Regions from separate parts of the Homo sapiens genome. Here all the other regions are linked to region 4. Evidence: promoter capture Hi-C in 16 types of primary human blood cells and fetal thymus (Javierre and others, 2016). All regions are on one chromosome and are shown on one strand. The core of a region is centred on a gene start or on the middle of the fragment in contact, and the rest is flanking DNA. Distances in the headings are between cores, read along the strand shown.

Region 1 (2,700 bases), core at 28-2,527, 490 kb after region 4:
TTAGGCTGTTCCTTACCTCCTTGCCTCTATTTATTCACCAGTCCTCAGACACAGATGACAATCTTATTCAACAGGCATTTGCTGAGCACTGTGTGCCAGGGAGCGTTCTCGATGCTGTAGGCCCATTGGTGAGCAGAGACTGCGCACCTGTGAGGTTTCTGTTCTTGTGAGGGTGATGGATGACAGACAAAGGAGGCCTGCAGAAGAGTCTATTCTTGCAGCTTGGACTAAGTCATCAAGCTGTGCTGACCAGGGTCAGCCACAGAGGGCCAGGAGGATGACCTTGGAGAGGGTGGAAGGAGCAGGAATGTGAGGAGTCAGGGAGGTGTGTCTGGGGCAGAGGGCATGGCACGCAGGAAGGCAGGGAAGGATGGGCCCGCAGGGTTCAGGAACAGCAGCGGGGTGCAGACCAGAGAGTGCCCGGAAAGCACGAGGAATTTGCTTGAAACGTAATGGAAGCCCCTTTCCTCTGTTTGCTCACCCTCACCTTCCTGGAAGGTGCTAACCTACTTTTTAAAACTCCAATGAGATGGACCTCACGTGATCACGGCAAGAGGGCAGCCACACCCTCGCAGGGAGCTCCTGGAGATCGAGGTAAATGCCTTACTTATGGTGGTGCCCAGTGTCTAGCAAGGTGTGGGGCCATCAACACATTTGTGGAGCTAGCCAGAAGTGAATGAATGAGGGAAGGAAGGAAGGAAGGAAGGAAGGAAGGAAGGAAGGAAGGAAGGAAGGGAAGGAGAGAGGGAGAGAGGGAGGAAGGAAGGAAGGAAGGAAGGAAGGAAGGAAGGAAGGAAGGGAAGGGAAGGAGAGAGGGAGAGAGGGAGGAAGGAAGGAAGGAAGCAAGGAAGGGAGGGAAGGAAGGAGAGAGGGAGGGAGGAAGGAAGGAAGGAAGGGAGCAAGGAAGGAAGGAGGGAAGGAAGGAAGCAAGGAAGGAAAGGAAAGGAAAGGAGGGAGGGAAGGAGGGAGGGAGGGAGGGAGAGAGGAAGGAAGGACTACCTCCACACTTCCTAGCTGTTCAGTAGAATTTGGCTCTCTAGATACGGCTTTTTTGGTCTGGAATGCTGAATCAGTAGCCAAAGTCATCAAAGACCGTCTCTTTCTCAAGGATCCCCAGTGTGGAAGCGGGACCCACCCAGCAAACCCATGCAGCATCAGGCAGCGCAGGGTTTTCATCCCGCTAGGAGCCTGCCCCCTGGTGGTGAAGAGAAGAAACGCAGAGCGAGAACCAGAGCCGGGCCGGGATGTCCCTGGGGCGGATGTCAGGGTTCACCTGGGGCTGCTTTGCCCCTGCGTGCAGCACCGCCCAGTAGGGCTGCTTACCTGTCCCACCCGTGCGCGCCCGCGGGTTCTAAACTCATTTTAACACTTGGTTAAGCAAAAACCAATTTGAGAAAATAAATGAGCTTGTAGGGTGTTTGAAAGCTAAATGGATTGATTTTGGATTGAGAACTACAGTGCTCTCAGGTTTTATATGGCACAGGATTACACACACCCAGGAGGAGCTGTGTGGTAATTATGACTAGAATCAGAAATTGCACCGTAAAAAGCTCATCTGAATAGATCCGGATTTACCGACACGGAAGACGGTCAGTTTCCCGGGAGGCCGGAAGACTGGGTATAGAATGAGCTTTCCTGGTGATCTCTAACAAACAAAAGGTGTCTGTGCTCTTGCAAGTGAAGGAAAACATTCTGAAGGGGGATGGTGAGCTCTGTTTTAAGTCATAACATTGAAGTACTTTGGGGTTATTTTTTGAGTGTCTGTATTTTCTGACTTCTCTATATTGTATTTCTGCAGCTCTCTCCCAGTTTTCTTTAGGGAAGCCCTAACTTAGACTCTCATGAATCCCCCAAAAAGGCAAGTTGAAAAAAATAACTTTTCTTTTTTGACATTTGAGGCATTCAAATGTCACACAGAGTCTCACTCTGTCGCCCAGGCTGGCGTGCAGTGGCACGATTTCAGCTCACTGCAACCTCCACCCCCCGGGTTCAAGTGATTCTCCTGCCTCAGCCTCCTGAGTAGCTGGGACTACAGGTACCTGCCACCACACCCGGCTTATTTTGTATTTTTAGTAGAGATGGGGTTTTATCATGTTGGCCAGGCTGGTCTCGAACTCCTGACCTCAAATGATCCACCCACCTCGGCCTCCCAAAGTGCTAGGATTACAGGTGTGAGCCACCGTGCCTGGATGAAAAAAAAAAAATAAGTTTTTTAATCCAGAAGAGATGGTATCTCCTCATGGTTTCATTTAGTTTTAAAAGACCCTTCTCACTTCCATCCCTCCCTCCTCACATACAAACCTAAAATTCTTGGATCCCTGAGGATAAAAACATAGTGGCGGACTCACATCTACCTGTATAATATTCAGGCAGCTTTTCCCAATTATTAGCTGTTCTCCACAGGATGAATGGAAGGTTTCTTTTTCTCCCTACTTCAATTCTAGTTAAATAAGTGAGATGCAAGGAGGAGGAAGAATTATAACGAGTCTGTACCGTGATATTATTTCATTACAGGCTGTAAAAAAATCCTCATTATTAGTCAGTTATATCATATTAGTGATCTTGCATCGTGTGTGTGTGTGTGTGTGTGTGTGTGTGAGATCCTGCATGTGTGTGTGAGACGGATAGAGTGTCTGTGTGTTTTTGCCTGGGAGAATGTTGTTGCCACTGCTCTTATATAGGATGGTTTTAAATAAATTT
Region 2 (2,700 bases), core at 91-2,590, 510 kb after region 4:
GGATGAACAGCAGTGAGTGAACGAGTGACTGCATAGTCTAACCCTTGATCACAAGGGTTAGACCAAGACTGCTGCAGTTGTCCAGGGAAAGAGGTATTCATGGGCCTGAACTAAGTCAGTGATGGTGGAGAGAGAGAAGGGAGCCAGTCGAGTTCTAGGAGAGCTGAAAACATTGGCCGCTGATCACATGAGAAGGCAGAGGGACCCATTTCTGCTGTGGATACTGGACATCCACTGAAGTGTGAAATGCAGAGCTTAGTGAGGAAGAGGAAGCACTGGAGGGATGTCCCTGCGTGCTTCCCAATGTATACACCCCAAACCCAGGCCCTTCATCACTTGTATGGGGAAGCGATGAAGGGCCTGGGTTTGGGGTGTGTACACTGGGAGGCACCTAGGGGCATCCCTTGGACAATGGCATGGTGTCTGCAGCTCAGAACAGCTTGGACTGTTGAGAGTCATAGGACACGGGAGAACAGCAACGCCAGGGGTAACGGTGAGATTGCCCAGGGCGGTGGGCAAGAAGTCCGAGGAAGAGGAGCCTCCAGAGGACTTTAGGGGGCACTGGTGGGAGAGAGAGGAAGGAAAGAGACCTCCAAATTCCAGTCAACATGGGGGAGTCAGAGTTAAACAAACCTGTAAATCGTTAAGTGGATAGAAGCACAGAGAGGAGGGCCGAGACTGGAGCTCTCCCACAACGGGAGCCCGGAAGGGCAGATGCAGGGGCCGTTACTTCAGCTCTGACCGGGTGGGATCCAATGGCCCCAGGGAGGCTGCAGGGCAAGGTTGGACACCCTTCATGAGACCAAGGGCTATGGTTATATTCTCTCACTCGTGAAAGAAACTCAAATTCTCTGCCCCCCTGGGATGGCAGCCAGAATGTAGCTGCGGGTCTGTGATGAAGGAAAAGGCAGACAAACAACAGCGGATCGGGATCTTGGCATTTGGAACTGCTTACCAGTTCCAGGATCGAAGCTGCCATGAACTCTTGGGGTGAGAACCCTGAACTGCTAATAACGCTCTTCCTCTGAGTCTTGGTCTCTTGGAGATCTGACTGAGGATACCTGAAATTATCAAACAGGAAAAGGTGATGCCTGCAGGAGAGAAAATACGGCTCCTATGCCAAACGAGCCCATAAATGAGCGTTATAAAGAATCTCCCAAAATCAGATGCCCCAGAAGAAAGACACGAAGTTAACAAATTGGAGAATACACACCTGGAAAAAAATAGAAAAATAGTGAAAACTGAAAAGGACTTTAATAGTGTGTGTTTAAAATCCTCAGAAAGTTTTAAAAAAAGTGACAGCAACTGTAAATAAGAACAGGGAGTTATGAAACAAAAACATAGCACTCAGGAATCAAGATCAATATGGATCCATTGATCAATGATCAATAAAGATCAATTTCAAAATCTGGAAAAAAAAGGTAGTTTTGAAATCAAAGCCCGCCGCAATGAGGTAAACAATAAGCTGGAAAAAAGTTGATGAGCGACTTTGTAAGACAGAATTGCAGAAATCAATCAAAATGCAGCACAGAGAGATAAAGAGAGAGAGAAATATGAAAGAGAAGTAAAGCGATGTGGAGAAGATACTGAAAAGCTCCGTACATATGAAACAGAATAGAATCAGTAGGGTCATGGCTAATTATTTCCAGAAGGGAAGGAAAATAAGAGCTCCTCAGACTAAAAGAACAAGTCGAGGGCCAAGTAAGATAAACACACAAACAAAATTCCATATTTAGATGTATCAGAGTGAAACTACAGATCAGAGATGATAAATACAATTTCAAACTACCAGAAAGAAAACACATTTTAGCCTAGGGAATGGCTATCTGTTCGAGAGCATCTTCATCAGCAAAAAAGAGGCCAGAAAACAATGGAGCAAAATGTTGAGGGAAAACATCTAACAATGCAATATTCTCTGCTCAACTCAAACGTCTTTTAAGAGTTACGGTGGCCCCTCTCCCCTCTCCCCTCTCCCCTCTCCCCTCTCCCCTCTCCCCTCTCCACGGTCTCCTTCCATGGTCTCCCCCTGATGCCGAGCCGAAGCTGGACTGTACTGCTGCGATCTCGGCTCACTGCAACCTCCCTGCCTGATTCTCCTGCCTCAGCCTGCCGAGTGCCTGCGATTGCAGGCGCGCGCCGCCACGCCTGACTGGTTTTCGTATTTTTTTGGTGGAGACGGGGTTTCGCTGTGTTGGCCGGGCTGGTCTCCAGCTCCTAACCGCGAGTGATGCACCAGCCTCGGCCTCCCGAGGTGCCGGGATTGCAGACGGAGTCTCGTTCACTCAGTGCTCAATGGCGCCCAGGCTGGAGTGCAGTGGCGTGATCTCGGCTCGCTACAACCTCCACCTCCCAGCCGCCTGCCTTGGCCTCCCAAAGAGCCGAGATTGCAGCCTCTGCCGGTCCGCCACCCCGTCTGGGAAGTGAGGAGCGTCTCTGCCTGGCCGCCCATCGTCTGGGATATGAGGAGCCCCTCTGCCTGGCTGCCCAGTCTGGAAAGTGAGGAGCGTCTCTGCCCGGCCGCCATCCCATCTAGGAAGCGAGGAGCGCCTCTTCCCCGCCGCCATCCCATCTAGGAAGTGAGGAGCGTCTCTGCCCGGCCGCCCATCGTCTGAGAGGTGGGGAGCACCTCTGCCCCGCCGCCCTGTCTGGGATGTGAGGAGCGTCTCTGCCCGGCCGCCCCGTCTGAGAAGTGAGGAAACC
Region 3 (2,700 bases), core at 93-2,592, 460 kb after region 4:
GCCACAAAAGCACAAAGATTTATAAATCCTCTTAAAATATAGCCCCTATTCAAGTCTCAGCTGTCTCAACTCTCTCTCTCCTCATCTCTCTCTCCCTGTCTCTCTCTGTCTCCCTCTCTCTTTCGCTGTCTCTTTTAGATTTGTGTGGCCCTCTAGCTATTGTCCTACAGTTTTACTCCTTCCCTTCTCAGAGGGTCTCTGCTTCTCTCACAATGCAACTTTCTGTCTGCTCATATCTGTCATGCCCTTCCCCACTCTCTGAACCTGTGCTGGCAAAGGTCACCTCCTAATTGCTGCACAAACTGGACCTATTTTAGTCCTAATCATACTTATTGCCTCAGTTGCATCTGGTGCTGTTAACCACATTCTTTTTTCACAAAACTCTCTCTGACTTGCCTTTCTTTGGCTTTCATTGTAGTCCTTGCTCCTAGCTCTCTTGTATATTTTGAGGTTCTCTCACAAAGTCCTTTTCTTCCATTTAACCCTGAACTGTGAGTGTTTTCTGAGCCCTCTGCTTGGCTCTTGTTCCACACCACACCTGCCTTCAAGGGACAGTTTTTTTGCTCCAGTGAATTCTTCTCCTCCTCCACAAGGAGGAGGTTTTTGTTGTGAGAAAATACACATAACATAAAATTTACCATCTTAACCAGTTTTAAATGTACAGTTCAGTGGTATTAAATATATTCAGAATATTGAGCAAACATCACCACCATTCACCCTCATAACTCTTTTCATCTTGTAAAACTGAAACTACCCATTAATAATAATGTTTCATTATTTCCCCCTCCTCTCAGCCCCTGGAAATCACCATTCTACTTTCTGTCTTTATGATTTTGACTACACTAAGTACCTCATATAAATGGAATCATACAGTGTTTGTCTTTTTTCGACTGGCTTATTCCACTTCGCATAATGTCCTCAAATCTCATCCATGTTGTAGCATGTGTCAGAATATCTTCCCTTTTTAAAGCTAAATAATTTCCCGTTTTACATATGTGCCACATTTTGTTTACTCATTCATCTGTCAACAGATACTTGAGTTGCTTTCACCTTTTGGCAATTGTGAATAATGTTGCTATGAACATGAGTGTACAGATATCCCTTCAAAACCCTGCTTCCAATTCTTTTGGGTATATATCTGGAAATGAGATTGCTCAGTCATGTTGTATTTTTGTGTTTAAGTTTTGTAGGAACTGCCATGCTGTTTTCCATACCAGCTGCACCATTACAATCCCACCAGAAGTGCACAAATTTCCAATTTCTCTGCATGATCACCAGTATTTGTTATGTTCTTTTTTTTTTTTTTTTTTTGAGACGGAGTCTCACTGTCACCCAGGCTGGAGTGCAGTGGCGCAATCTTGGCTCACTGCAAGCTCTGCCTCCCGGGTTCACATCATTCTCCTGCCTCAGCCTCCTGAGTAGCTGGGACTACAGGCACCCGCTACCATGCCCGGCTAATTTTTTGTATTTTTAGTAGAGACGGGGTTTCACTGTGTTAGCCAGGATGGTCTCAATCTCCTGACCTTGTGATCCACCAATCTCGGCCTCCCAAAGTGCTGGGGTTACAGGCATGAGCCACCACACCTGGCCTGTCCTTTTTTTTTTTTTTTTTTTAATTCTAGCCATCCTGATGAGTGTGAGATGGTGTCTCGTTGTGGTTTTGATTTGCATTTCACTAGTGGTCAGTGATGTTGAACATCTCTTCATGCACTCATTGGCCATTTGGATGTTTTCTTTGGAGAAATCTCTATTCAAGTCCCTTGTCCCTTTTTAAACTTGGTTGTTTTTGGTGTTGTTGTTGAGTTTCCAGTGGATTCTTCTTCCCAGATATTTGCTTCTACTGTGCCTTGAACTATGTCCAAATCCCTGTTCAGTTTCCACTGGGTTGTCCCATGGACACCCCTAGACCATTCCAACTAATCTCACCATTGCCCCTACTGAGTCACTCTTCCTCCCCCATTCCTCTTCTTACCTCCTTCACTACCATTGACTCATTCTCACAGCCAGAACCCAGCAGAGAAGTGGGAGGCTGGTGAAGCCCTGCCACACGCCTTTTGATAGAATATCTAAGGACACAGCCTCCAGCTTTAGGAGAGAATAAGCCCATTTCTCTGCATTTGGTTGGGAATGAGCTTGATGGTCTCATCTGGGCCCATAGGTGGTGGGAGCCCTGCTGCCTCTTGGGCCAAGGAGACCACTCAGTAACTTTCCATGTCCTCTCCCCCCAGACAGCATCAAGGATGTCTGGCTGAGGTGAAGGATTCAGCCAGGTATGGCTGGACACTATGGGACCTTGGCCTTTAAGGTGGGTGTGGTAAGGGGAGTTTGGAGAAAATCCTGGCCCATCAGAAGTCCCCACTTTCTACCTACAATACCTGTAATAATAACTTCAATAAATAATAAAGTTAATAATAACTTTAACCCACAATACCTATAATAATAACTTCAATTTAAGGGTGCTATAGAATGACTAATTGTAATGTAATTTGAATGTGAACATTACAAAATTGGAAGTTAGTTGTTAACTAGAACATCACAGTTTATGGTAATGCACAAAATCAACTCCAAGTTGCCTAAATGATGGTAGAGAAGAATATTTCCAAAATATAAAACCTAGGTAGGGGACAAAGATGGAACCCACAAAACATTACCTGTAATGCTCAGTAATAATTGTCCACTGCACAGAGGACAGAGGAGATG
Region 4 (2,700 bases), core at 36-2,535:
CTGTTCACAATAGCAAAGACTTGGAACCAACCCAAATACCTGTCAATGATAGACTGGATAAAGAAAATGTGGCACATATACACCATGGAATACTAAGCAGCCATAAAAAGGGATGAGTTCATGTCCTTTGTAGGGACGTGGATGAAGCTGGAAACCATCAATCTCAGCAAACTAACACAAGAACAGAAAACCAAACACCACATGTTCTCACTCATAAGTGGGAGTTGAACAATGAGAACAAATGGACACAGGGAGAGGAACATCACACACCGGGGCCTGTTGGGGGGTGGGGGGCTGGGGGAGGGATAGTATTAGGAGAAATACCTAATGTAGATGATGGGTTGATGGGTGCAGCAAACAACCATGGCACATGTATACCTATGTAACAAACCTGAAGGTTCTGCACATGTGCCCCAGAACTTAAAGTATATATTTAAAAAATCTCTCTTTTTCTTTCCCTCTATATTTTGGTTCTCCTTTCTGGAGAACCCTGACTAAGAACACACCTGACCTCTAACCATTTATGCCTATTTTATAGATGAGAAAATTGAGGTTCAGAGGTGTTGAGTGCCATGCCCAAGGGGATACTCCTGGTACATGGTAGAGCCAAGATCTCAGTCCAGGTCTTTCTGAGACAAAACACAGCTTCTTATGCGTGAAATCCACAAATAAGAACACAATGACCTACATACAACACAAACTGTACTTCCAATTAAGTAGTTCTCCTTTTTAATCATTCAAAAACTACCTTGGGATCTTACAGTGCATGGGAATCATCAATATGTAAATACCTTATTATCCAGGTGATGTGCAAAAGTGTCCAGTAGCACAGAAGATTGGTTAATAGGATGGTGTGTCCCAGCTTTTTACTGCACTTGTACTTGCTTCGAATATTTAGGACCCCTATATAAAATTATCTTCTCCAAAGTCATAATTTCCAAGAAGATCTTATACCCACACTATTTTCATAAGTAGTCAACTGCAAGATCTTTAGAACCATGAGGGGATCTCAATACACAACAATTTAAGATTAACCATTTTGTTGAATGTAAGATTATATCCCCTCCAAAGAATGAAATTAAAATAGAGAAAAATAAACAGCACACGTGGAATCCTGAGCCTCTTGATGCCTTTTGCCTTGGGCTAAAGTTCTCTTGTGAGTTGTAAACTTCAAAAGTGTCCTCAAACTGGAACCTTTCCATAGGAAAAGTCAGCAGAAAATATTGACCCCAGGATCAATTGTTTCTGTTTAAGTTACAGATTGCTGCAGTCAAAATAAGCAGCCAGTGTTTGATAAAGACAGCTCCTCTTAGGAAGAACTGTCATCCCCAAACACATAGAGAGACACTCTCTGTCTCTCGATTACAATCATGATTTCCAGAATGGAGAAGATGACGATGATGATGAAGATATTGATTATGTTTGCTCTTGGAATGAACTACTGGTCTTGCTCAGGTAAGGTATTCACCAACCTGGCCACCTGCTCTGGATCATGCAGAGCCATGCTGGCGCCTGTGTCTTGTCTCACTGTGCCCCATGTGCTTGCGTGTCCAGGTTTCCCAGTGTACGACTACGATCCATCCTCCTTAAGGGATGCCCTCAGTGCCTCTGTGGTAAAAGTGAATTCCCAGTCACTGAGTCCGTATCTGTTTCGGGCATTCAGAAGCTCATTAAAAAGAGTAAGTGCAAAATGAAATCTTCTCTACTCCTCCTTCCAATGCTGTCTGCCTTTTGTCAGTTCATTGGATATACTTTTAAGAAATTTTCTCCAGTTTAAAAATGATAGTAGCTAGTCATCTCTTTCATACTGTCTCTTTTCTTTGACAGAGAAAGATTTAATTACAATTTTTTGTCATGAGGCTATCCAAACCACTTTTGATGACTGATTCTTCTGCTGTATTCTCCTCTCTAACCTTGTCTTCTGGTTCCCTGCAGCCTGCTTTTGTACTTGAAGTCCTCGCGATTCTTTCTGAGGTGTTTTATTACGAACTTCTCATTTATTGGAAATGAGCCTCCTTTCAAATTCAGCAGTTCTGCTCCTAATACTTACTGGAAATAATCTGGCTTTTGAGTCAAAGAAATTCACCTTTCCTTGTCAATTTGGTAATAGTCTGTTTCCTCTTAGCTTTGGGAGCTAAAGAAAGAGTAATCACTTGGGCTTCCAATGACTAAGTCTGTGATATGCAAGGAAAGAAATGTAAAAATATCCTTCAAAGGAAATGAGAAACATAAGCAGCAAGTCATCTCCCTTCTTCCTGTTCCCCAGGTAATTTCACTGCCTTATTATCATCTGCATGGGGCTCATTTGGAGGTAGGGATGAACATATTTTCAAGCAAATTTAGGTTAAGGTGGGAGGTAGAGAGGTTCTATAAAGTTGCACATCTTAGGAATGAAGGCTCTGTATAGCCAGGCAGCATGGGAATGAGAATGAAGACACGGCTGAAGGTCCAGGCAGCAGAGGCCAGATGGACATTGCTTTCTCTCTGTCTGCCTGCTGCCTTCTCCCATCCCTCCTGGACTGACTCTTAGCTTGTTCCCTCTGCTACTCTGTAGAGCACATGGCTCATGATTTCCTAGTTCTAGTCTCCAAATACAACATATTCAGCTTGATCTTCCTCAGAACCTGGCTCCTAGTTTCTCTTTTCCAAATTTCAAGGGAAATGAATCAAAAGGACCCAGTTTTATTTTCTAGTTTGATT

What was found. The method cuts DNA at HindIII sites, captures the fragments that hold promoters and counts their contacts. A CHiCAGO score of 5 or more calls a contact.
Region 1: a contact is called between a fragment that was not itself captured here and the fragment with the promoter of SPP2 in region 4, in 6 of 17 cell types (non-activated CD4 T cells, total CD8 T cells, naive CD4 T cells and 3 more). The highest score is 11.0, in non-activated CD4 T cells.
Region 2: a contact is called between a fragment that was not itself captured here and the fragment with the promoter of SPP2 in region 4, in 1 of 17 cell types (total CD4 T cells). The highest score is 5.2, in total CD4 T cells.
Region 3: a contact is called between a fragment that was not itself captured here and the fragment with the promoter of SPP2 in region 4, in 9 of 17 cell types (total CD4 T cells, non-activated CD4 T cells, total CD8 T cells and 6 more). The highest score is 15.0, in total CD4 T cells.

The regions. Positions count from the first base shown.
Region 1 is chr2:234,543,916-234,546,615 of GRCh38, forward strand. No RefSeq gene overlaps it. Among named protein-coding and RNA genes, the nearest start is that of ARL4C, 48 kb to the left of the region's middle. The HindIII fragment of the contact is 7,918 bases long and covers 1-2,700 here.
Region 2 is chr2:234,560,180-234,562,879 of GRCh38, forward strand. No RefSeq gene overlaps it. Among named protein-coding and RNA genes, the nearest start is that of ARL4C, 64 kb to the left of the region's middle. RefSeq lists an enhancer at 2,554-2,700. The HindIII fragment of the contact is 6,746 bases long and covers 1-2,700 here.
Region 3 is chr2:234,509,625-234,512,324 of GRCh38, forward strand. No RefSeq gene overlaps it. Among named protein-coding and RNA genes, the nearest start is that of ARL4C, 14 kb to the left of the region's middle. The HindIII fragment of the contact is 3,740 bases long and covers 1-2,700 here.
Region 4 is chr2:234,049,417-234,052,116 of GRCh38, forward strand. SPP2 (secreted phosphoprotein 2) reads left to right here and starts at 1,286. Exons shown (of 8, transcript NM_006944.3): 1 at 1,286-1,455; 2 at 1,555-1,679. The coding sequence starts at 1,371. The HindIII fragment of the contact is 10,293 bases long and covers 1-2,700 here.